Regions from separate parts of the Homo sapiens genome. Here region 1 is linked to region 2. The links are contacts of gene promoters, found by promoter capture Hi-C in blood cells and fetal thymus (Javierre and others, 2016). All regions are on one chromosome and are shown on one strand. The core of a region is centred on a gene start or on the middle of the fragment in contact, and the rest is flanking DNA. Distances in the headings are between cores, read along the strand shown.

The links. Contacts are between HindIII fragments. The CHiCAGO score rates a contact against its expected background, and 5 or more counts as called.
Region 1: a contact is called between a fragment that was not itself captured here and the fragment with the promoter of BIK in region 2, in 2 of 17 cell types (neutrophils and naive B cells). The highest score is 5.8, in neutrophils.

Annotation. Positions count from the first base shown.
Region 1 is chr22:42,868,973-42,874,599 of GRCh38, reverse strand. PACSIN2 (protein kinase C and casein kinase substrate in neurons 2) reads left to right here. Exons shown (of 11, transcript NM_001184970.3): 11 at 3,131-4,827. The coding sequence ends at 3,243. It overlaps LOC101927393 (a long non-coding RNA gene), which reads right to left and starts at 3,186. Exons shown (of 3, transcript XR_001755575.2): 1 at 3,097-3,186; 2 at 2,515-2,615; 3 at 1-2,108. The HindIII fragment of the contact is 295 bases long and covers 3,628-3,922 here.
Region 2 is chr22:43,107,186-43,113,072 of GRCh38, reverse strand. BIK (BCL2 interacting killer) reads right to left here and starts at 2,323. Exons shown (of 5, transcript NM_001197.5): 1 at 2,270-2,323. RefSeq lists silencers at 1,454-1,673, 2,204-2,373 and an enhancer at 1,698-2,256. The HindIII fragment of the contact is 21,199 bases long and covers 1-2,532 here.

The DNA of each region.
Region 1 (5,627 bases), core at 2,526-5,025, 240 kb after region 2:
AGCTTTGCCCAGACCCCAGAGTAGCACTTGGCATGCCCCTGGGCCAGGTGGGGCCTTGTCTCAGGCAGCAACTTGTGTGTGTGCACACCTACCTGCCCACACCTACCATGCACACACCAACCCACACACATATCTGTGTTGCTAGGAGCAGAAACCATAGTTTTATAAAACAGCCTGGATCCTGATTACATGTGCTCTGCCTGTGAAGACTTTCTGTGCAATGTCTTTTTCTTCTTTGAATGGTCTTCAATGATAATCTTTTTTTTTTTTTTTTTTAATAGAGACACGGTCTCACTCTGTTAGCCAAGCTGGGTTACAGTGGTGCGATCATAGCTCACAGCAGCTGCAGCCTTGATCTCCTGGGCTCAAGCAGTCCTCCCACCTCAGCCTCCTACGTAGCTGGGACCACAGATGTGTGCTACCACCCCACCCACTATAGGAATCTTTTTTAATGCATTTGCAGTTTACCAAAATGGCTTTTCACATCTTCAATTTGAAAAGTGTTATCTTGTCCGGGCACGATGGCTCACACCTGTAATCCCAGCACTTTGCGAGGCCAAGGCCGAAGGATCACTTGAGGTCAGGAGTTTGAGACCAGCCTGGCCAACATGGTGAAACCCTGCCTCTATTAAAAAATAAAAAAATTATTCAGGCATGGTGGCACACACCTGTAATCCCAGCTACTGGGGAGGCCAAGAGAATCACTTGAACCTGGGAGGTGGAGGTTGCAGTGAGCTGAGATCATACCACTGCACTCCAGCCTGGGTGATGGAGTGACACTCTGTCTCAAAAAAAAAAAAAGGAAAGAAAATTGCTATCTTAGCACCTAAGGAAGCTGGAGTGGCCTAGGGCCAAAGTGGACCCACAGCAACCCAGATTCTTCCCTCTCTTGCCCTCTTTGTGAAGCTCCCCCAGAAGCAGCATCTACCACTCCAAGAGGGAAGCTGGGCCAGAACTCAACCCACACAGGCTGAAGTGTGCCCTTGCCCCTAGGCTACACTTGTGGGAAAGGCTGCCTTACCACCACCACCCCAACCCCTGACTCAGCAGGGAAGCCAGGGCCTGGGGGCTGTGCCCAATGGCCTAGCTTCTAACCAGTCTTCAGCCTCCTCCCCTCAGCACCCAGAGTGCCAGCCTGCTGTCCCCAGACACTCTTCCCCTGGGCTGGTTATCAGCTGCCTCTGCCCAGTTTGAGAAGTTGGGTTTTTTTGTTTTTTTGGATTTTTTTTTAATGTGCCTTTAAGCCATCTTCATCCAGTTTCTGATATCTTTGGTTGGGGTTGTTACCCCCGACTTTGTTGGTTTATTTGTTTATAATTTCTAACTCCTTTTCAATCCTGCCTATTGGGTTTGACAGTAATTTTGTAGATTTAAAATGTTTCTTCCAGATCCAAGTAAATTGTCAAAAGCAAACTGATTGAAATGAACCTTCTAATCACCAGTTCACATTTGCACAATGTGAAAGCTTTCCTGTCCGTTCTATTTTCTGTGTTATCCTGCTTTTTAACAATGCAAAATTAGCTCCCAGCCAGTGTGGCTTGACTTACGTCTCTTGCGGTGTTCTGGCTGTTTGCCACATGGTAGTGTGGGGTTACAGGCCTCATCCTAGCCTCGGTAGCCTGGATCCAGGCCTGTGAGAGCACAGCAACCAATGAAGGCAGGACAAAAGAAACGCCAGGGGCCCGAGGCACGAAGCGGTGGAAAGAGATGGTGGTTCATCGTGGCTGCTGCCCTGTGGCCCCTGCATCTGCTCCTGATGCCTCTGGGTTAGATCTGCAGGCGCACTGGTCTGGCAGAAGCGGCACGACAGTGGGAGGCTGAGCCAGTGCTTACGCATGTCCCACCCTCCCAGGGTTCTTTAGTGTCTTAACACTTAATCTTCACAGTACCCCCAGTCCACAGATGAGGGCCACAGGCCCAGGGAGTGGACGCAGTTGGTCCAGGTCTCCCAGCCAGTGAGTGATGGCTGTGGGATTTGAGCCCAGGCAGTCCGGGGAGCACTGGAAGCCCCAGGTATTAGCTCCGCAGGCATGTTGACCAGCATTGCTGCCATACAAAATCCAAAGCATCAGGGAAATGCTAAACCAGGGGGAAAACTGCATCTAATTCTGAAAAATGGACCAAAAAATGCCAAAGAGAGTTACAAAACTTCAAACTTAGCAATAAAGGCAAAACAGCACTGGGACTATTTCTTTCCCACCAATTGCTTGCTCCTGACGAGGTCCGAGCCAGCAGGCCCAACTGGCCTTCCCTGCAGTGAGTTACCAACCAGAAGCACACAGGCCCCTGCCCACCCCTGGGCTCTGAGCTGCTCTGCTTCCCTAACCTGGCAAATGCCAGACCTGGGGCCCTACCCTAGTGCCACCTCCCCCTCACCACCCTAGTCTGCCTCCTTGAGACCAGGATCCATCAGTTCCTCTCATCTCTGTATCTCCTCTTCTACCCAAGGCCTGGCCAGAAGTAGGAGGTCCTTCAGGTTGGAACAACCAAAGATAAATGGAACCACGTTAATACATTAGAGCCACAGGGAGATTCCAGAACAGCGCCAGGGGCTCCTTCTCAGGGTCTCAGGAAGGGTTGACACATGGCACCGTGCACAAGTCATCAGCCAGGTGCTGGGGATAAAATGACAGGTATGACTGTCAGACATGGTCCCTTCCCCTCGCAGCCTGGAAGTTGCAGAGGAGAGGGATTAGCAAAGGCAGAGAGACCCCAGAGACAGCTGCTGGGAGCAAGGCGGCCGGGGCCCTGGGGAGGGGACAGAAGAGGCCCAACGTGAGGGAGGGGCACAACCGAGGGACGATTCCTGCCACCTGGCCAGGGTGGTGAGGAAGGCACAGCCCTATGGAGCTGGATGCCGCAGTCTCAGTGGGAGCCACTGTGGCAGCTGAGAGCAGCTTGTTCCAAATTACTGTGTGAGACTGTCATCTCTAGGTCTGTCAGAGGCCCATGACCAAAGAGGCAACTTAAAATGCATGCATTTAGTAGAGAAATGACCAGGCCCTCGGCCTGCCCGCCACAGAATGCCTGGCCCTCCACCCTCTGTGGGCTCAAAGCTCGTGAATGCGGCTCTGTAGCCCACCGTCGGTGTCATACCTCTCATGGAGACGGCTCCCTCTTTGTCTTGCAGGGGATGAGCTGACCAAGATGGAGGACGAGGATGAGCAGGGCTGGTGCAAGGGACGCTTGGACAACGGGCAAGTTGGCCTATACCCGGCAAATTATGTGGAGGCGATCCAGTGATGAGTCGGGGACAGGCCAGCGGGGGGACGGAGGCGGCGGGCCCAGGAGCCTCAGCCAGCCACGTGGGCATCCACTCCTTTTCCTGCAAGAGATGATGGTTCCATTGCTCTTGGCTTCATGGTGTTCCTGGAAGGCAGATGAGCTGGTCATTTCGCCTGGGACTCGGCACCTTTCCGAGTGCAGCTGGAGGGATCTGAGCGCAGGAAGACGCAGAACAACAGAAATAGCCGCCCCTCCCCGCCCACTGTGCCTGTTGGCCTATCATAGATCTCTATGTTCTTGACTTTGTCTCTCCTTTCCGAGTCAATGGTGGGTTACACTGATCTTGTTCCACTGATTACTCTCTCTGACGAGTCCATCACCTGCAACTTAAATGAACAAGCTTACATCCCATTTTGAGTGAAGATTTTGAGGTTTTTAATTTAAAGGCTGTGTACAGTTATACTTTTTTATACACCTGTTCATTTCTACTTAAATTATGGCACAGATTGATGCGCACCAGTCTTGAGGAAACGATCTCCCTATTCCCTTACCCTGTTACTCAGCCACGCCGTGTGTAGGCTTAGCCTCAGGTGGCAGATGTTTGAGGAAAGGAATTATGCCAGGAAGGTGGGACCGGGTTATGGTCGGGTTTCTATTGGGAATGCTCTTTGTGCTTTTGGGCATCTGAATGGAAGCTTTACATAGAACCTTAGGTAGAACTCCCCCAAATCGCCATATTTAAAAATTATTTTCACTCTATTCTTGCTTAAAACTGTACTCTTTTGCAAATTAACAATTTTATCACTGATTCAGAGTTAAAAAGAAGACTAACTTTTCAAGCAAATGCATCTGTAAAGATGCTTTAGATTAGACTGTCATGTCTCAGTGTCTATCTGTATATATTATTTGATATTCAGAGAATCTAAAGCACTCGTCTACTGTTTTAATGAGATTTAACAGCTTTTAACAGTGAGTTTCGTTTGTAAACTGCTTGAAGTCTGTGGCATTCAGGCACACGTCTGGCTGGCCGGCTGGGTCTCCTCCCGGGCTCAGTGGGCCTGGGGCCTCTCTGACGTGGTGCCTGCTGGAGGGAGGCTCGTCGTCACCAGCTGACTGCTGGTCCGGCTTCTGACCGGCCTTTGTCCTGGCTCCGTAGCAGAACACTGTAAAAGTGCCCGCGTCTTTGCAGTAGTTGCAGATTTCAGTCGTCGTGTTACTTGTGCACAAACAGAAGCTGGGTCTTACCCGCAGCACGAGTGTCTCGGGCTGCCCGGAGTCGCCCGGGAGCAGGTGCTGCAGCCAGAGTTACGCGGGGGCCACGCGGGCCGGCGGGGGTGGGGGGAACGTGGGGGAACCTGTGTTTCACGTGACTCAGCAGTGCCCGCCGCCGTCACCAGCTATGCATTCACTCCGTTTCCAGTGAGCAGATGTCTTGCTTGGAAAGTGGACCTGTGTCTGTGTCTGTCCTGAGAACTTACCAGCAGAAATCCTCATTTCTGTGCTACGGATTTACCAAAAATTGTCAAGTCTTTTTCAGTTTAACAGTTCCTTTACATGTGTAGTATTTGAGGAAAAAAATCAATAAACAGTTGATCTCGTGCATATGGAAGTCCCTTCGCCATCATCTGTCTTCATGCCCACTTCACTTGGCGGGGGTGGCCTCCCTGGGGCTTACTAGCTTTGGAGCTGGGCAAGATCCAGGGCACAGGACCCCTGCCCAAAAGGCCACGGCCCACTGCCCCTGCCAAACTGGAGGTTGGGGATTTGAGGCACCTGAGCCCCTTGGGGTTCCCTTCTCCCCGAGACCTGCTGCTGTTTGACCTGGGCTTCCACATGGTGCGGGCATCGGCTGGCGCCTCTCTATTGCCCCAGCCCAAACAGCAGGACAAGACTGACATCACCCATAACTCTCCTATGAGCACATTTTCCTGAGCACCTACTGTGTGCTCTCCACTTTTTACTTACATTATCTGCGTCTCCAAACATCTCCACAGGGTATGGGCAAGTCTCCCCATTTCCATTCTACCGAGGAGGAAACAGAGGCTCCAAGAGCCAGCCAGGGTTTCTTGAGGAGTCTCAGCCAGCCCAAAGCACTGAGCGAAATCCCTGAGGAACCACCCCCTCCCTCGCTGGAGAAACTGAGGAGGGAGGAGGCTTGGACTGGCTTGAAGACAGGAGAGAAGCAAGACGTGAGGGCGGCTGTGGCCACGCTCACCGAGCCCTGGGAAGGCTGCCCAGAAAAGCACGCCAGCTGGGCATGGGGCCTCACAGAGCACCTGGGAGGAGCAAGGCAGGCAGCTGCCCCTGCAGTGTGGCTTTGTCCCAGCTCAGCAAGGGTATGGGACAGATCCTTGTCACGCAGCCTCCTTGTCTGAGGGGTGGCGGGTCCCCTGCTCCCAGCT
Region 2 (5,887 bases), core at 1,074-3,573:
GCCACCACGACCGGCTAATTTTTGCATTTTTAAAAGAGACTGGTTTTGCCATGTTGGCCAGGCTCGTCTCACAACTCCTGACCTCAGGTGATCCATCTCCCTCGGCCTCCCAAAGTGCTAGGATTACAAATGTGAGCCACCATGCCCAGCCTAATGCTCCTTTTTTTGAGACAGGGTCTCACTCTGTCTCCCAGGCTAGAGTGCAGTGGCATGATCAGGGTTCACTGCAGCCTCAACCCCTCCAAGCTCAGGTAGGCCTCTGAACTCAGCCTCCTGCGTAGCTAGGACCAGAGGCACATGCCACCATGCCCGGTTAATTTTTTGTATTTTTGGTAGAGACAGGGTTTTACCATGTTACCCAGTCTGGTCTAGCCCAGTCTAGTCTCCTGAGCTCAAGCAATCCTCCTGCCTCAGCCTCCCAAAGTGCTAGGATTACAGGCACGAGTCAAATGTGTGAGAATCTTAGTCTTAACATCCTTAAGACAATTAAAAAAAAAAAAAGGGCCAGGCATAGGGGCTCACGTCTGTAATCCCAGCACCTTGGGAGGCTGAGGCAGGAGTATTTAAACACTCAAGCCGGGCGGGGTGGGTCACACCTGTAATCCCAGCACTTTGGGAGGCTGAGGCGGGTGGATCGCCTGAGGTCAGGAGTTCGAGACTAGCTTGGCCAACATGGTGAAACCCCATCTCTACTAAAAATACAAAAAATTAGCTGGGCCTCGTGGTAGGCGCCTGTAATCCCAGCTACTAGGAGGCTGAGGCAGGAGAACCGTTTGAACCCAGGAGGCCGAGGTTGCAGTTAGCCGAGACGGCGCCATTGCACTCCAGCCTGGGCAACAAGAGCGAAGCTCTGTTTCAAAAAAAAACAAAAAGAAACAAAAAACACCCAAACTGTGCCATTCCTGAGAACTTATTCCAAAGGCGTGCCCAAATTAAGTAGAAATCGGGGTGAGTCTTAACTCCAGGGAGGCTACTAACTTGAGAGGGGCTTTCACCTGGCCAGAAACCTCAGGGATACATTTTGCAGAGTGAACAGAACAAACTGAGGTTCAGAGAGATGGAGTGGCCCTTCCGAGGCCACAGGGCTGGAGAGTGGAAAGAGGTTTTGGCTTGGGTTCCATAAAGGGCCCTTGGCTTCTAGCTAGACAACCCTGGCATTTCTGTGCCTCCTGGGACTGAAATCTCTGTTTCTCCACCTGGAAGATGAGGCCTCCTGCTCCCAGGGGCAGACAGATGTTAAGAACTTCCCGGCGCTAGTGCCCACCAGACTGCGCTCCTCCTAATGCGGGGACATGAGGCTGACACCAATGCTCCCTGGGAAGCTCGGGCTCCCAGACCACAGTAAACACTGCGTTAAAACAGCAACAAAAATGTTACAATAGTAAGAGCTACAACAGTAACATCAACAACCACGTCCTACCCCACGAGTGGCTCATTCTAGCAAAATTGACAATGAAGGGCTTGAAAGCGATCGCATTTAGGAGGCCAGAGCCCAGACGACGACCAGCTCCGAACCCCACAAGCCTTGTCGTGACCGCGCCCCGCAGGCGGGGGGCCCCCTCGCGGGTCACCCGCAGGGGCGCACCTCCAATTTACCAAACAAGGTCGCATGCCCCAGCCGGGCTCTAGTCCCCGCCCAGTCTGGGGCGCACCTGTGCAGGGCGCGTGGGCAAGCGAGGGCGGGCGGCTGCGCGCCGCTCCGTGTGCACGTTCCTGTTCCGGACTTTCTGGGCGTCCCGTTACGAAGCCTTTCCTCGGCCCTTCCTCAGGTGCGCAGCGCCTCCGGGAGCCGGTCCCGGCGGCACCGGGCACGACGCCATCTTCCCTCTTTTAAGGGCACCGGGGCTGTGCGGCCGCGGCCGTGGGCTGGCGTTGCCGCGCTACGGTCTGGCCGGGTCCGCACGACCCCAGAGTTCGGAGCCGGGTGCCCGGAAGCCGCACTGGAGGACTGTGCGGCGGCGATGGGGCGTCCAGCCGTCGCGGCGAGACGCAGAGGGACCACCCCATTGCACAGGCGCGGAGACTGAGGCCCGCAGGGGCCGCGCCTGGCACGATCGCCCGTCGGGGACCTGGAGCCCCGGACAGAGAGGGTACGTTTCGGAGCCGGAGTCCCGAGACGTCGCCCCGCCAGCGACTTGCTGGAGCGGTAAAACCTGGGCACGGCTCCCCACACTTCCAGCCGCTCGGCACCCGGGCCGCGGCCTGGGCGCTAACCGCCGGGCTCGAGCTGGGCGGAGCAGCGGGCGGCAGCAGGGTCGGGGGCACTCACCTGGCGGCGGCGATGCTGGCAGCGTCTGTAAGCCACCCGGGAGGCTTCGTGTCTGCGGCCCGGCTGCCGGCGCGGGACCTAATAGGCCCGGGCGCCCCGCCCCTCCCGCCCCGCCCGGGTCCCGCCCCTCCCCGGGAGCGGCCTCTCGCACCCCGAGCGCGGAATCCCGGACTGGGGTCTGAATGGCATTGGCAACAGAACCGCTACAAGTGCAGCCCGTTGGCTTGTTTACAGCCTCTCTGCCCCCTGCTGTTCTGCAAGCTTGTTTTGTCCCGTGCGTCGCTGTTTCCCCTGCGCCCAGCACGGGCGTGCACTCAGGGGTTTCCATCAATATCGGGGGGATCGATCCATTGACAGAATCTGGCCCTTTACACGGATGGCCTCCGTTCGAGCTCAAAGTACTCCTCGGTGCTTTTTTTCACGATCATTTTACCCACGTGGAAACCGAGGCTCCAAGAGGACGAAATGACTTAAATGACAGCGTGAAGCCAGCGTTCAAAGACGTGTGCTCCTTAGGCTGGCAGCTTTGGGATTTAGGTGTTTTAAAGCCTATTTCACAAATATGAAAACCGAGGTTCACATTTGGTTAGCAGCAGCATCCAGTGATCCATACCCGAAGCCAGGGGGCTGCCCCTCCACTGCCGCCCGTCCGCAGCCTTCCAGCTGCATGACACACCCACTGCCTTCCCCCTCCCGTCGGGGCTCCGGGTCCGCGAGAGGCGGGCGGGACTGGGAGGGATTGGGGGCAGGGGGCTCACGTGCAGACCTGGTGAGACGGACCCCACAGCGCCTGGCGGGGCGAACAGAGAAATCAGAAAGCTTCCAGGCGGGGTGGGCGGGTGGGCAGCCTGCTACGCGGGGATGGGTAGGACCTAACTCCAGCCCTGGGGTATATTGGGGGTGGGAGAAGGCAGAGCGCTCCTGGAATAACAAAGTAACAATTGTCCTGGGCACGGCAAAGCTTGTTTACTTCTGTCTTGATCCCCTCAGAGATTAGGGGAGGGGCAGGGACAGGGGTTCCCCTCCCCCAGCTCTGTCGTTTGCTACCTGTTGGGTACCCTCACTCTGTTCTTCCCACCTCTAGGGTAATTACTTCCCCTTCAATGTTCTCATCTGTGAAATGGACAACAGCACCTACCAAGAGCTGGGCTGTTGGGAGGAACAGAGGAGGTAAAGTGTGATAAAGTCTTCAGAGCCCCTCCCGCCTTCCGGGCTCTGGACCTTCTTTGCTTTTGTGGGGTTTTTTTGTTTGTTTTTGTTTTTGTTTTTTTGAGACAGAGTCTAGCCCTGTTGCCCAGGCTGGAGTGCAGTGGCACAATCTTGGCTCACTGCAACGTCTGTCTCCCAGGTTGAAGCAATCCTCCCGCCTCAGCCCCCCTAGTAGCTGGATTACAGGCGTGTGCCACCATGCCCGGCTAGTTTTTGTATTTTTAGTAGAGACGGGGTTTTGCCATATTGGCCAGGCTGGTCTTGAACTCCTGACACCAGGTGATCCACCGGCCTCGGGCTCCCAAAGTGCTGGGATTACAGGCGTGAGCCACCACTCCCGGCCCTGTAGTCTTTTCTTCTAGGGCCTCCAAACTACATCAACCCCTACAAAGCAGCTCGCCCTGACTGTGGCTAACAGCCACAGAGTGCCTTACAGTCAGGAGCAGGGAACCCTTCATAATGGGGGCTTCCCTCTGAATGCATTTTGCAGATGAAAAAATTGAGACTCAGGGAGGTAAAGCAATGACACGGGGTCTCATGGGTCCGAAAGACCTGATATATGTGAGATGCTTGCAGAGGGGTCTTAAGGCTGGAGGCACAGTGCCAGGTATGTAGGAGATGTTCAGTAAACATTAGCAGAAAAGATGGAGAAAGAAGGACCGTTTGGGGACACTGGATGATTCAAGGGCAGAGTGGGTGCAAATACAGTACTTATTTACTTTGCAAAATCCCAAGACAATATGCTGATCAAAAGGAGGAAGAGATGGCTGGGCATGGTGGCTCACGCCTATAACCCCAGCACTTTGGGAGGCCAAGGCAGGTGGATCACCTGAGGTCAGGTGTTTGAGACCAGCCTGGCCAACATGACGAAACTCCATCTCTACTAAAAATTAAAAAACTAGGCCAGGCGCGGTGGCTTGCGCCTGTAATCTCAGCACTTTGGGAGGACAAGGCAGGCGGCTCATCTGAGGTCAGGAGTTTGAGACCAGCCTGACCAACATGGAGAAACCCCATCTCTACTAAAAATACAAAATTAGCTGGGCGGGGTGGCACATGCCTGTAATCCCAGCTACTCGAGAAGGTTGAGGCAGGAGAATTAGGGAGGCAGAGGTTGCAGTGAGCTGAGACCACGCCATTATACTCCAGCCTGGGCAACAAGAGTGAAACTCTGTCTCAAAAAAAAAAAAAAAAAAGTAGCGGGTGTGATGGCACTCACCTGTAGTCCCAGCTACTTGGGAGGCTGAGGCAGAGAATTGCTTGAACCTGGGAGGCCTTGATTGCAGTGAGCCAAGATCGTGCCACTGCACTCCAGCCTGGGCAACACAGCAAGATTCTTCTGTCTAAAAAAAAAAAAAAGCTCACGAAGGAAACTGTCTTGGAGATGCATGATCGCATGATCTATTGAATGAAATGGCATGCTGTATAAATCACTGTGTCCATTAGAATCCTATATTCTTTAAAAATCCATGTATGGCTGGGCAAGGTGGCAGGTGCCTGTAATCCCAGCACTTTGGGAGGCCGAGGCAGGCAGATCACAAGGTCAGGAGATCGAGACCATCCTGACTAACACAGTGAAACCCCATCTCTACTAAAAATACAAAAAAATTTAGCTGGGTGTGGTGGTGGACGCCTGTAGTCCCAGCTGCTCAGGGGGCTGAGGCAGGAGAATGGCGTGAACCCGGGAGGCGGAGCTTGCAGTGAGCCGAGATTGTGCCACTGCACTCCAGCCTGGGCAACACAGCGAGACTCTGTCTCAAGAAAAAAAAAAAAAAATCCATGTGTGAAAGTCTGGAAGGAAATATAGCACAGCAAAATGGGAATAGTAGTCATCTCTGGGCATCATGAAGTTCATTACCAGGCACACCTAATCTATGGCGCTAGAGGTGACATTGGCGGCTCCCTCTCCAGGGTGAAGATGGGTATTGGCTGGGAAGGGGCATTATGGAACTTTCTGGGGTGACACAGATGGTGGCTGCAGGGGTGCATATGTATGCAAACAGCTGAATGCTTAGGAACTGTGCATGTTTTGGTATGTCAATTAAACTCAATACTAATACAGGTGTATTGAGTTTTTGTTTGTTTGTTTTTGTTTTGTTTTGTTTTTGAGATGGAGTCTCACTCTGTCACCCAGGCTGCAGTGCAGTGATGCCATCTCAGCTCACTGCAACCTCCGCCTCCTGTGTTCAAGAGATTCTCCTGTCTCAGCCTCCAGGGTAGCTGGGACTACAGGCATGCACCACCACGCCCGGCTAATGTTTTTTTTTTTTTTTTTTTTTTCTGTATTTTTAGTGGAGACGGGATTTCACCCTGTTGGCCAGACTGGTCTTGAACTCCTGACCTCAGGGAATCTGCCCACCTCGGCCTCCCAAAGTGCTGGGATTACAGGTGTGAGCCACCACGCCTGGTCCT